Linked DNA regions of Homo sapiens: regions 1 and 2 are each linked to region 3. Evidence: promoter capture Hi-C in 16 types of primary human blood cells and fetal thymus (Javierre and others, 2016). All regions are on one chromosome and are shown on one strand. The core of a region is centred on a gene start or on the middle of the fragment in contact, and the rest is flanking DNA. Distances in the headings are between cores, read along the strand shown. Region 1 holds the start of RPSA (ribosomal protein SA). Region 2 holds the start of LIMD1-AS1 (LIMD1 antisense RNA 1). Region 3 holds the start of NKTR (natural killer cell triggering receptor).

Evidence for each region. Contacts are between HindIII fragments. The CHiCAGO score rates a contact against its expected background, and 5 or more counts as called.
Region 1: the fragment with the promoter of RPSA here is called in contact with the fragment with the promoter of NKTR in region 3 in 2 of 17 cell types (monocytes and total B cells); the score reaches 7.7 in monocytes.
Region 2: a contact is called between the fragment with the promoter of LIMD1-AS1 here and the fragment with the promoter of NKTR in region 3, in 1 of 17 cell types (neutrophils). The highest score is 5.3, in neutrophils.

What each region holds. Positions count from the first base shown.
Region 1 is chr3:39,403,824-39,408,607 of GRCh38, forward strand. RPSA (ribosomal protein SA) reads left to right here and starts at 2,897. Exons shown (of 7, transcript NM_002295.6): 1 at 2,897-2,941; 2 at 3,798-3,963; 3 at 4,783-4,784. The coding sequence starts at 3,831. SNORA6 (small nucleolar RNA, H/ACA box 6) reads left to right here and starts at 4,568; the gene lies at 4,568-4,716. RefSeq lists enhancers at 240-1,032, 2,618-3,409, 2,791-2,930 and silencers at 3,101-3,280, 4,676-4,725. The HindIII fragment of the contact is 4,276 bases long and covers 543-4,784 here.
Region 2 is chr3:45,687,526-45,692,110 of GRCh38, forward strand. It overlaps LIMD1-AS1 (LIMD1 antisense RNA 1), which reads right to left and starts at 1,357. Exons shown (of 3, transcript NR_033947.1): 1 at 851-1,357. SACM1L (SAC1 like phosphatidylinositide phosphatase) reads left to right here and starts at 1,871. Exons shown (of 20, transcript NM_014016.5): 1 at 1,871-1,972. The coding sequence starts at 1,941. TRR-ACG2-1 (tRNA-Arg (anticodon ACG) 2-1) reads right to left here and starts at 1,546; the gene lies at 1,474-1,546. RefSeq lists enhancers at 673-742, 1,253-1,302, 1,563-1,852 and a silencer at 1,883-2,062. The HindIII fragment of the contact is 5,339 bases long and covers 1-2,890 here.
Region 3 is chr3:42,599,279-42,603,469 of GRCh38, forward strand. NKTR (natural killer cell triggering receptor) reads left to right here and starts at 1,408. Exons shown (of 17, transcript NM_005385.4): 1 at 1,408-1,500; 2 at 1,706-1,786. The coding sequence starts at 1,729. It also overlaps a transcript of SEC22C not described here. RefSeq lists a silencer at 1,502-1,711. The HindIII fragment of the contact is 13,164 bases long and covers 1-4,191 here.

The sequences.
Region 1 (4,784 bases), core at 1,647-4,146, 3.2 Mb before region 3:
TTTGGCATGCTGCATGCTTTGAATTAAAGAAAATTGAAAGGCTTCTGAAATAGCGTCAGAACCAAGGTTTCTTTCTGACCTTCCCCTAACCCCATCTCTCAATCCCCTTTTCCCAAAGCATCCGGAGGGGCTTTGTCTGAAGTTCCCTTATCTGAATAAGGTAGGTTCCTCCAGAATAAAATACAATAGTCTTAAAACTTCCTCCCTAAGAATCTCATCAGGTAACCAGGAAATATTAACCACTGGGAAGAGAAAAGACTAAAAGTCATCACCATGCCCAGACAGACTCTTCATCTATTTTTCTGAGGGCAGCTTTTGAGAGATTTTCCAGGAGACATTATTTGCCTAATAAGGCAACCTTTGGTCACAGTGAAGTTCCTCCCCTTACCCTTTGCTGCTGTTTCCCCCAGAGCTCACAGGAACTTTGTCTCAGGCAAATTTTCTGTTCTTTGAACTCATTCCTATCCTTCCAAAAATCACTTACTAGCCCTCTAAATTGTTTACCATCCCATCTCCCTTCCCTGTGAAGTAGATGCTATTTAAGCTTCAGCCATCTGGCCCTTCTTTGAGTCTTATATTTCGTGTGGCTCCTGTGCATAAGCACATTAATAAATGTGTATGTTTGGCCTGGTGTGGTGGCTCACGCCTGTAATCCCAGCACTTTGGGAGGCCGAGGTGGGCAGATAACCTGAGGTCAGGAGTTCAAGTCCAGCCTGACCAACATGGAGCAACCCCATTTCTACTAAAAATACAAAATTAGCCGGGTGTGGTGGCGCATGCCTATAATCCCAGCTACTCGAGAGGCTGAGGCAGGAGAATTGCTTGAACCCGAGAGGTGGAGGTTTCGTTGAGCCGAGATTGAGCCACTGCACTCCAGCCTGGGCAACAAGAGCAAAACTCCGTCTCAAAAAAAAAAAGTGTATGTTTCTTCTCCTGTTAATTTGTCTATTGTCAGTTCATTTTAGCAGTGAACACTCAGAGGGTGGAGGGGAAGCCCCTACAAGAGCTTTAAAAGCTACTGATGCTTGGGTCTCACTCAGAGATTCTGATATATTCAGCCCAGGTGTAAGATTTTAAAAGCTGCCCAGGTGATCCTAATGCCAAGGCTGAGGCCCCTGGAGGAACCCTGCAGAGCTGCACTCACTACTCAGCAATCCCAATCCACACGTGAAGGGTTAAGCAGGAGTACATTTGGGTGCAGGGGGCAGGGCATTGTTTTGGGACTCAGGGGCCTCTGAGGAGGCTTGTGGCCTGAGTTTCTGCCAACAAACTGAATGCCTCCTCTTCCCATAACAAAGCGTAGAAGCGGGAGGCATTTGCATTTGCCGCAAGGGGCTGTGACTTCTCTGAATTTGTCCCTCAAGCCCCAGGTGCTTCAGCCTTGGTGGGTGATGAAGCAGAGCAGCCTGGGGGTGACCTGTGCTAGGGTCCAAGGGTTTCCAAGCTCCTCAGAAAATCATACTGGCTTCAGTGGAGCTGCAGAGCCACTTGCAGGAGAACCTGGATGTGCTGTCCTTTGGAAGAGTGGCCATAAGGGTCTACGAGTTCATTTTAGGGTGGGCTCAGAAATCAGATTGACTCAGCAGGCCCCAGAGAGGAACCTGCACTTTTTTTTTTTTTGACGGAGTCTTACTCTGTCGCCCAGGCTGGAGTGCAAGTGGCGCAATCTCCACTCACTACAACCTCTGCCTCCTGGGTTCAAGCAATTCTCCCGCCTCAGCCTCCCCAGTAGCTGGGATTACAGGCATGCCTGGCTAATTTTTGAATTTTTAGTAGATACCGGGTTTCGCCATGTTGGCCAGGCTGGTCTCTTGAACTCCTGGCCTCAAGGGATCCGCCCGCGTCAGCCTCCGAAAGTGCTGGGATTACAGCCACCGCGCCCCTTCAATTAACTCCTATTTTTTTGTTTGTTTTTTGGAGACAGAATTTCGCTCTATTGCCCAGGCTGGAGTGCAGCGGTGCAATCACATTCACTGCAGACTTGACCTCTAGGCTCAAGCTATCCTCCTGCCTCAGCCTCCTGAGTAGCTGAGACTACAGGGACGCACCATCATGATTGGTTAATTTTTGTATTTTTTGTGGAGATGGGGGTCTCCCCATGTTTCCCAGGCTAGTCTTGAACTTCTGAGCTCAGGCAATCCACCCACCTCGGCCTCCCAAAGTGCTGGGATTACAGGCACAAGCCACCGCGCCCGGCAAACTTATCTCCTACTGATGGATATTGCAAAATTTTTCTTCTACCAAAAAAAAAAAAAAAAAAAAGATAGATATAATCCATACCATCTGTTCAATCTTGTCCTTTTTAACTTTTTCAGGGAAACTTCCCCCAGGTGATAGATGGATAGATACATGAGATAGACATAACGCATACGATCAGTTCAATCTTATCTTTTTTAACTTTTTCAGAGAAAACTTCCCTTAAGTGAACATTTAAATCTGAATTACGTCCTGTTAAACTGTTCTCCAGGAAAATAAAATAAAATAAATCTTCAAGTTTTTGTTTACCTAACAATTTGTTGTGTCGAACAAACCTTCCTACTTTTCAGGTAACAAAATGGCAGCTTAGGCTAGAAAGCCGCTCATATTCGCAGGTACAAGGGCTGGGTAAGAACGCCCCGCCTGGCTGACTAACTTGAGTTCCGCGCTCTGGACAGGAATTATGCACAGGGCGTCGCTGTGGCACTAGAAACCCCAAAGTCACAAGCGCCCCAGATCCGACCAGGATGCCGCTACCGGCTACAGCCCAGAGGCCCGCTCCTGCGGCGCAAGCCCGCCTTCCTGAAGAAAAAGCCCAGTCCCGGCAGCGTTCTTCTCCGGCTCCGCCCTTCTTCCGCTCGACTTTCTTTGCCATTGGCTGACAACGGAGTACATAAGGACGTCATTTCCTGCCGCCTGTCTTTTCCGTGCTACCTGCAGAGGGGTCCATACGGCGTTGTTCTGGGTGAGTTCCGTGTAGCGTCCCTGGCGCCTTCCAGGGCTAGAAAAATGAGCTTTTCCTGCTCAAATGAAGGGTGAGAAGACTAGTGATGAAAGCCGGTCAGACTGGATCTGTCTCCCGCCCGGCGCGCCCCACCTTAGGCCTGCGGCCCGCACGTGGCCAGGCTCGGGCTGGCGGGTTCCCAGAGTGCCCCGGGAGCGGGTGGAGGCCGCCCTCCAGCGGAGGCTCCGAGCTGGGGTTCGGACCAGGCCGCGGGTGGGCGGGAGTGCAGAAAGCGGGCTAACATCCTGTGTTGCTATCCCTTCGGAGTCCCACACGGCGGTGAGTCTAGGCCCAGGCGCTGATTTACACCAGCTACTTGGGCTGGTCGGGTTTTCCCTTCGCGCCGTGCGGGTCAGGAGTTAAGGTTCTCGGGTTTTTAGACAAACAAGTGGTGACAGCACAGCGAAGTAATTCCAAAGCATCCGCCTACAATCTGCTTGAAAATGTCTGAAAACAATTCATGCCTTTTTTGCCTTTAGTTTGCATATTCCAAACATGGCTGCTCTTTTGTATCTAGTTGTTAACTTGGCGCATCCACAACTTTTCCTTAATTCCTATCTTGAGAAGTGTTGAATTTCCATTCGCTAATTTCGTGTAGTTTTATTACTCGGTTACTCTGCCGTCCACACTATTTCCTCAGTAAGATGTGCGCTGTTCCGTAATACACGACATGTATGGGTTAACTTTCTGTTTACCCTTCACTACACTGTAAGCTCAATGCCTGACACTATAGCAGATGGAGTTTTTGGTTGCTTTTAAGGGTGTGCCCTACTTAACTCAATGGAATGAAAAGAAATAGGTTGCTCTCTTATTTCAGATTCCCGTCGTAACTTAAAGGGAAATTTTCACAATGTCCGGAGCCCTTGATGTCCTGCAAATGAAGGAGGAGGATGTCCTTAAGTTCCTTGCAGCAGGAACCCACTTAGGTGGCACCAATCTTGACTTCCAGATGGAACAGTACATCTATAAAAGGAAAAGTGATGGTTAGTCATTGCTTTAATTTTTTGTTACTCCAGCTGTAAGTACAAATTTTGAGCTTGCTATTCTCGTGGTTAGTTCTGGGTAATTTCTTTCTATCTTCCTTAAATGAAGCCAGACCCCTACGTTGAAAACATACTTTAAATAAATGTTCTTGTTATTGAGAGAAAAGATTTCTGCTCCAGGGGAGGAATATGTCAGTTGTCTGAGTTACGGGACTTGGGTTGGGTCATGAACATGAGAAAGTTCATTGGCTGAGTTTCTAATAGCTCGCATAGTGCCTTCAACTTCATAGGTACTTACACAGGCTATTGAACTGAATTTTGAGTGGAAAGTGGGGTAAGAGGTGGGAATGAACAATATGGTTTGGAAGAACCAGAGGATGGAAGGCATTAAGTTGGCTAAGGCACTTACTTATTTTAGAGATAAAGCTACCAAGGACTTGGGAGTGACATGCTGTAAAGGAGTTTTAGGATGAATCTTGCATCAGTGCAGATTATAAAAGGGAAAGAGTGGCAGAAAGCCAGGAAGTGGATTATTAAGAACCAATGATGGAATAAGTACAGGGAAAGAGAAAGGAAAGATGGATTTAGCCAACTGAATCTAGGCTGCACACTATTAAAGCTCAGGGTGGAGGCCAGTCTTGGCTCATGAACTTCTGAGTGTCGGAAGTGTGCTATATCAATGGCAGGATTTTCGCTAACACCAGTAGAGCTTGCCTCTATGACTGGAGTTTGGTAGTACTCGCTGCCACATAGAGTAAACTTGAGAAGAATGTTTGCACAGCCAGGTCAAGTGTTACAAATCCTTCTGCCCTCACTTAGGC
Region 2 (4,585 bases), core at 107-2,606, 3.1 Mb after region 3:
GAGGCTGAAGCAGGAGAATTGCTTGAACCCGGGAGGCAGAGACTGCAGTAAGCCGAGATCACGCCACTGCACTCCAGCCTGGGTGACAGAGCGAGACTCCGTCTCAAAATAATAATAATTCAACACAGGGTCTCATTCTGTTGCTCAGGCTGGAGTGCAGTGGCATGGTAACAGCTCACTGCAGCCTCAACCTCCTGGGCTGAGGTGATCCTCCCACCTCAGCCTCCTGAGTAGCTAGGACTATAGGTGCACACCACCACACCTGGCTAATTAAAATTTATTTATTTATTTAGTAAATAGAGATGAGGTCTTGCTATGTTGCCCAGGCTGGTCTCGAACTCCTAAGCAGCATCATTTTTTCTAGGTGTTAAACTGACAACCACCCAAATTCCCAGCATAAGGATTCTGCTTAAAATATCTAGCTCTCTGATGAAATATCTTCAAAGAATATTTAATGACCTTAAATCTCAGACAAAAAGGTAAGGAGACAAAATGAGGAACCCATTTCCGTACAACCCCAATTTGGAAAAACACATGTGCAAGTATGCCCATGTTAAAAAATATAGAAGAAAAAAAGGCTTTAAGGAAAAAAAAAATAATAGTAATGATTTAGGGTGGGAATCGCGTTAATATTCCCAATAATTTTATATATTTTAAAAATCTATAATTTTATCAGGGGAAAACGTTATGTTGCGGAAATTAATTGATCGATTGAGTGATTGGTTAACGGACAGTGTCCGATGACTCATATAATCCCCCGGTTCGAGTCCCTTTAGGCCGCAGACGTTTCGCGCCTTCTCGGGTGTCCAAGTCGCGCATCCATACAATGAGGGGTAATATACTAGATTACCTGAGGTCTTCTTACGGTAAAAACACCGGTGTCTTAAGGTTTCCCAGTGGAATTTGGGGGCCGGGTTGACTTCGGAGCTGGAGCTCGCAAAGGCCGGGGCTGCTGCAGATTCTGACGCTTTGTGGACCCCTACTACCGAGCGCAGCCGCACCGCAGGTTTTCTTCGCTGCTGGTTAGATCCAAAGCCCATCCCATCCTAGTAAACTGGGACAGCGCCGCTTCTCACATCACTATGGGGGCTTCTGCTCCGTGGCGGGGAAAGGCCAGAACTGCTGCCTTAAATACGCTTTTGCATCATCCGGTTGCTAACCTCCGGCCACAGCATTCCCCACTCCAAAATGCCACTTTTCCAGGTGTGTTTGCCTAAATTTACCCCATTTACAGACTTCTCAGGTGCATCATTGGGAACAGGGCGCTTTGCAGTTTGCAAACCACCTCAGACAACTCCAGGTTTAAAGGATAAAGGATGACATTGTGAGCAAAGCGGCATCAAAATTTCAGATATTTAACTTTCACATTCTAACCATACACCTTTCCAAGGTCTTGTAATACTTTCACATTGTGAATATACATCTTTACAAGACCCAGTAGTACATGGGTCAAGTGTGGCAAAACAGACATCGCGAGCCAGCCAGGAGTCGAACCTAGAATCTTCTGATCCGTAGTCAGACGCGTTATCCATTGCGCCACTGGCCCCGACTTGCTAAAGCCTTCTCCGTGATAGCTGATCACCCTTATACAGTTTGAACGGGCTTCCGGGTACCAACGATCCATTTTGCCCTTGCGCCGCGCTCCCGCTGCTCTGCCTTTCCCCAAAACGCGCCCCACCAATCCGCAGCGGCTTCGTCACGGCGCTCTTCGTCGCACTCCAACCCGCCGCGTCGGCGGCATCTCTCGCGTGCTCTTGCTTGCGCACTAATTTGTCCTCCACCGCCTCCCGTTCAGGCCGGCTCTCCTGCGGGGCGGGGAAAGGGGTGGGAAGAGGCTGGGAGCTGCGGCCGCTGTGCCAGGGTGACCGGTAGAGTTGTAGCCGAGGTGGCGGCGCGGGGCGGGGCGGGCGGAGAGAGAAGGAAGGAGGTGGTTGTGCAGGATGGCGACGGCGGCCTACGAGCAGCTGAAGCTGTGAGTCCCACGGGCCAGAGGCCTGAGGCGCGGCGGGCGGGGCGGCAGGTGCGGGCCCTGGCCTCGGGGAGGGCTTCTGAGTCCCGGATTGCAGATAGGGTGTGGGAGCTCCTCGCATTTACCGGTTTTCCTCAGCCGGCGCGGCCTCTCCTAGGCCTCGCCCGAGTAGCCATAGGCCGGGAACCAGCGGCTCGCCGGCCTTTCTCCACCGTGCTCGGCCCCAGCGCCCACGGCTGAAGAGAGAAGCTGCCGACTGGCCCCCACCGAGCCGGGGTCGGCGTTATGATGCGGCCCTTCAGGGCACGCTTGTCCCCACTTTCTATGCAGAGCTACCGACTAAATTTATCTGTATGACTTAACAGAGAAAAAGAGTTTTCTCTTACTTAACGGACCTACAGCAGCAATTTAGAGTCTACGCACAAATCAACAAATCTTTGTTTTGCTTACAGCCTATCTGGGTACCGAAGCCTGCCTGCCCCCTCTTCAGTGTGCAGAAAAAATTTAAAGTACAGTCAGTAGTCTTAAGGTCCTGAAGGAGTTTACTTTGGTTTAAATTTTAAACAGCTCCAGCCTAAAGCAGGTTCTTAAGTCAGTGTCGACAGCCAGAGGCTAATCTCGGTAATTTTGGTACTGCAAATTGACTTTTCGGTAAATCCAAGTTCTTGAGTCTTTGATACAGAGGCTGTGGTTGTTAAGAGTTATAAAATAGGTGTTTTTAAGGGTTTTGGTTTGTCTTGGATTAAAAACAACATGTGTTTATTTCCCTTAGTGTTACCCATTAGCATCCACACTTTTCTTGTCTGTGAATAATTTTGTTGTACTCACTTCGTGTTTAATGCTTTACCCCTAGGCTGTTTGAAAATCTGGTGGCCACAGCCTGGGAATATCTGGTAGGAGAAACAAATGTAATTTTTTAGAAGCTTATCTATCCCTGTATATGAGCTAAAATACCTTGGCAGTTAGGCATAGATACCGCATTTCTTTTGCAGGGAAATGACACCAAAATGTGGTTTGGGCACTTAAGCTCCTCAGACCTCAACCTCACTAGTAACTTTCTGAAAGGTTCAGTGGAAAGTTAGAGGTGCAAAATTCAGAGAGGTCATCTATTCCACATTGTATGTGTTGCAAAAAAGATGATTGCTTTTTCTACAGTGCACCCCCTGTGGGTGCCATTTCTGTTTACTGTAATGTTCTTTGAAAACCCTAGCTGCACACTTCCCTCCACATTTTCCTCTCCACCTTTCCCTATTTTCTCCCAGTTCCCCTTTGCAAAGTGCTCACCTCGTCTTTGGTGAAAGAGTTGAAGGAAGTGTCTTCCACTGCGTTTCTGGCCAGGCCACTGTCACATGTGCTCTGCTAGCTAATTAGGTTATTGTGTATCTGATAGGCACTGAAGGGTTTAATGTGATCCTACACCAGGTCTCAAATGTGTTTAAGCCATATGGAGCCATGGCTTCATGCAGCTTAGCGTGGCAAAGATTGAATAGGATGGAGAACTTGAGAATTATGATGATTGTTTTTCAGCTGCCAGAACACTAAATTTAACCAGTTCAGACCTTAAAACAAACCCAAATCCTCGCATACATAAAAGAGAAAGGAAATTTGTCCCTGAAGTAGTAAGAATGATGTTTTTGTATTGATTTTTGTGAGAAGTGGAAACTCTTAAATTATTTGGGTGATAAAGTCAAACTGGGGTTATGTGAAAGTCATTCTCTCATTTGTCAGTCCTAGCTTTTTTTCCCCCTGAAAAAAAAGTTTAGAGTGTTTCTGTAAATGTGAAGGTACAACTTTTTTGCACCTTTTTCTTTACCAAGGGGTTTATGAGTTAGAGTTTCCATTTTTATTCCTTCCTTTTGGCCCTTCCTGCTCTGAGGCTGCTGTTGAAGGTTTTCAAATGTGGCTCCTGCCCTAAGGAGTATTCTTTTTTGGATGCATTTAGAAGTGAAATTGGTTTCTGTGTAAGAATTGGTAGGAGATAGTAGCCATTTTTTAAAATGTGTCTGGAGATGTGTTTTAAGAAATATCCATGCAAAAGAGATAGTTCGATTATTTTATTACAAAAGGATTGCTAAAAGGATTTATTTAAATGTTGAAATGCTTGTTTTTTTTTTCTTTTGTTTCGTTTTGTCTTTAAAGAGATGGGGTCTCATTCTGTTGCCCAGGCTGGAGTACAGTGGTTTGATCATAGCTCACTGCAGCCTCTAACTCCTAGTCTCAAGCGAGCCTCCCACCTCAGCCTCTCGAGGAGCTAGGACTACAGATGCACACCACCACACCTGTCCTACTTCGGATTTTAAATAATAATTCTGTCTGCATTATGCCATGCTTTTTCTCCAGCCCATCTCTGCCTTGTTGAATTTCACCTTTCTAATGCTCTGGTTTTATCCTCTACTTTCCTGCTTACAATTTCCAGTTCCATCTTACTGACCTATAGGATCAAACTTGCATTTCTTAGCCATCTGTATATTCTAGCCTTTTTATAATCTGTCGCCTAATTTATTTCCCGTAACTGCCCAGAGCCTTTTCCCCACTTCTGCAAAACTTGGCTCATCCCCTTCTAGCTTCAAACTTGGGTGTTATTTTGATCCTTCTACCCAGAATGCCTTCTTCCTC
Region 3 (4,191 bases), core at 158-2,657:
TTATAGTTTAAAAAAAAAACTTATAAAATAGTGTGGTACTCAGACACAGATCATTGGAACAAAAATCCAGAAACAGACCCACACATATATGGTCACAAGGCGAAGGTAATTCAATGTATAAGAGTCTTTTCAGGCCGGGCGCGGTGGCTCACGCCTGTAATCCCAGCACTTTGGGAGGCCGAGGCGGGCGGATCACGAGGTCAGGAGATCGAGACCATCCCGGCTAAAACGGTGAAACCCCGTCTCTACTAAAAATACAAAAAATTAGCCGGGCGTAGTGGCGGGCGCCTGTAGTCCCAGCTACTTGGGAGGCTGAGGCAGGAGAATGGCGTGAACCCGGGAGGCGGAGCTTGCAGTGAGCCGAGATCCCGCCACTGCACTCCAGCCTGGGCGACAGAGCGAGACTCCGTCTCAAAAAAAAAAAAAAGAGTCTTTTCAACAAACGGTAATGGAACGACTGTATATCCCAATAGGAAAATGTTGACACTTACTTGACAACATAAGCAAAAATTAATGATATTAGATCATATCATAGACTTACACGTTAAAGACTATGTAAAACATATATGAGAACACAGAATATCTTCAAGAACTTGAGGTAGGCAGAGATTTCCTAGCACAGGAAAAGCACAAACCATTAAAATATAAAACTGACCAATTGACTTAATCAGAATTAAAAACTTCTTTGCCAAAAACGTCAAAACAATGAAACGACAGGCCCAGATTGGGAAAAAGACTTCGCAATCATTTATGTAACAAAAGATTTTCATTCAGAGCATACATATATCTAACAAAACATTTGTATCCAGAACTGTTAAACACGAAGGACCAGATTTAAAAACGGGCAGAAGACTGGAACTGAAACTTCACAAAAGATGCAGAATGGTCAGTAAGCACAGGACAAAAACGGTGCCAGTGACGCTGGTGCCAAAGCGGGAAGGAACGCATTCTTCAGCCTAAAAGACCTAACAGTAGGACACGGACATAACCACTCCCGGCCAAAAAGAACACAGAGCAACACAACGTCTTGGCTAACGAAAACTCAAAGCCTCAATTCACTCAGTTCCTTCACAGCGCTCGGAAACAGAGAAGTCTCGCGGTATCGGAAAATGCGCGGCGCTCACAGCCACACCTGACGAGATGGAGGGCGCAGGCGCATCCACGGCTTTCAGATTGGGCGACTGACTTCAAAGGGGGGGGCAAACAGGGAACGCGCAGGTATAGGAGCGCTGGCTGGAGGCTCCTCGAGAGCTCCCCAGACACGCCCCCGTGCGTACGCCCCCGTGCGTACGCCCCCGCTGCCGCCACCTTCGGTTGACCACCCCCATCTAGACTGTACTCTCGCGGTATTTGTCCCGACTCTCGCGGGGTTTAGCGTGGCATTGGGAGGCCCGGCCTGGGGGAGGAGACGGCGTTCCGTTAGCGGCGTTGGGGTTTGGCTGCAGTGGCAGTGCTTTCTCTTCTGCTCACGGGGACCCGCTCAGGCTGGAGGCCAGCCAGGTGAAGAGCTCGCCCGCATGCGTGCGCGCTGCGTGGGAGCCGCGAGGCCCGGGGCGGGAGGGGGCCTCGTCTTGGCCTCCTGCGCTGTCGCGACGGGCCGGCGTGAGGCACCGTGGCGCGGACTTCGTCTCAGCCCCGCCCTCGCCCCTGCCCTCGCCCCCGCCCTCGCCCCTGCCCTGACCGCTTTTCTCCCCCTCTCTCCCAGCTCTTGCCGCCACCTCGGTCGCGATGGGGGCGCAGGACCGGCCGCAGTGCCACTTCGACATCGAGATCAACCGGGAGCCGGGTGAGCTGGAAACTGGGGAGCGCTGCTGGGGCCGAGGCCTGCCTTGGCGAAGGGGAGGGGTCTACCCTCAGCAACCCTCCCCCGGCCTTTTTGGGAGCGGGTAGGAGGCGCAGGCAACTTTCCGTTTTCTCTTGAGAGAAAATCAGTGGGAGAGGAAGGTGGCCTGGGCACACCCCTAACTCGCAGTCCGGGCCTCTTCCTGCCAAACCCCACACACCCCGCTGCATCTCCGGACTGAGTCCTCGTAGCCAGCCTGGCGCCAAGAAAAGGAGGTGCAGTTCTTTGAGGACTTTTTCTCTCCCAGTGTCTCCGTGAGGCAGACACTCCCGATCCGATTTCCGGTTATCTTGCTTGGTGCTATGAAGTTTCAACTAGTAGGAAATATTGTGTGTTTCCTAATCACGATATATCACTAATATGTTAATTTTGCCTCTATTTTTCCTTAAGAATCTTTAGCTAGAATTTCGTGGTTCCTGGGAAAATGGCTTAGTGAAGATCTTTTGTGATAAACCAGAGCATTTTGTACCAGCAGAATTGCAGCATGCATGCACTTAGCATTAATGTTTGTCTTTAGGGAATCCAGACATTTGTTAGTGTATTTTTTTTAAATGAAACATTTCCTTCTAAAGCATAGTTATTTCATTCTAAGTAGCAGAGCGTGCAGGGTTTCAAACTGTTTTCTTAGCTTTTTTTGTTATCCGTGACAAAAGTTTTAATTGGAGACATATATATATGTGTTGTCTTTGTGCAACATCTTGTTCTGCATATTCTTATGAGAGCCTGCTACTGTTCTAGGGTCTGGAGATAGAGCAGCGCATAAAACAAAGGCCTCTTCCTTTTATAGTTTATATTCTATTGGGGGGAAGACGGACAACTAGGAAAAAAATAACAGTGACTTGTAGTTGGGATACTATTTTAATAAGTTGGTCAGACAAGGCCATTTTGAGAAGATGAGATTTAAGCAGGTATCAGAAGGAGATGAAGTGAGCCGTATTTAAGAAGAGCATTCGTGGTAGAGGGAAACAGCACAGCCCTGAGGTGAGGAGTAGTATACAGTCAGGCGCCAAATGACATTTCTATCTTTAACAATGGTCTTATATATAATACCTTTTTTTGGTAACTTTTTAATGTTTAGCTGTGTTTAGATATACAAATACTTCATTGTGTTAAAGTTGCCTACGGTATTCAGTGGAGTAACATCCTGTACAGGTTTGTAGCCTAGGAGCAAATAGACTATATAGCTTAGGTGTGTAGTAGGCCGTACCATCTAGGTGTGTTTAAATACATTCCATGATGTTCACACAATGACGAAATTGCCTAATTACACATTTCTCAGAATCCGTCCTGGTTATTAAACAATGGAGGACTGTACTTGCATGTTTGAGGGACAGCAGGGTGCCCAGTGTGGCTGGAGTAGAAGAGGAAAGAGAATAGTAAGAAATGGCCTGTAGGACTGACTCAGTGAGGTAGGAAGATATTAAAGGGTTTCGAGCAAAGGGATGAGATAATCCTGGAAATTTGGTTGCCTTCTCTCTCTTTTTAATGTTTTTAGCCTTGATTGATCTTTTTTTTTTTTTTTTTTAAATAAGTGTTACTAGAAAGCCTTGATGGACCTTAATCTTTATTTTGTAGTGAATCCATGCTTTAGATAACAGGGTTATTTTCTATTAAGAATTAAAAATAGCTCACGCCTGTAATCCCAGCACTTTGGGAGGCAGACGCGGGTGTATCATTTTGAGGTCAGGAGTTCGAGACCAGCCTGGCCTACATGGCGAAACCCCATCTCTACAAAAAATAAAAAAATTAGCTGGGCATGGTGGCTCTCTTAGTTTTTGCCTGTAGTCCCAGCTATTTGGGAGGCTGAGACTGAAGGACTGCTTGAGCCTGGGAAGCAGAGGTTGCAGTGAGTAGAGATTATACCACTGCATGTCAGCCTGGGTGACGGAGTGAGACCCTGTCTCAAAAAAAAAAAAAAAGAAAAGAAAAGAAAAATAGTAGATTGCTGAAGAGTAGAAGTATGACCAAGCATGGTGGCTCATACCAGTAATCCCAGTACTTAGGGAGGCCCAGGCAGGAGGATTGCTTGAACCCAGGAGTTTGAGACCAGCCTGGGCAATATAGCAAGACCCTGTCTACAAAAAACAATTTTTTTTTAATTAGCCAGGCATGGTGGTGCTCACCTGTACTTGGAAGGGTGAGGTGGGAGGATGGCTTGAGCTCAGGAGTTTAAGGCTGCCATGAGCTATGATTGCACCACTGCACTCCAGCTTGGTCAACAGAGCAAGATCTTGTTTCTAAAAAAAAAAAAAAAAAAAAAAAAACAGCTTAAGAAAAAGTACAAATAAAAATTTCTGTAGTTAAGTACTCCTTTCCTAGTAAATGTTCAGATCCTAGATTTGCACATA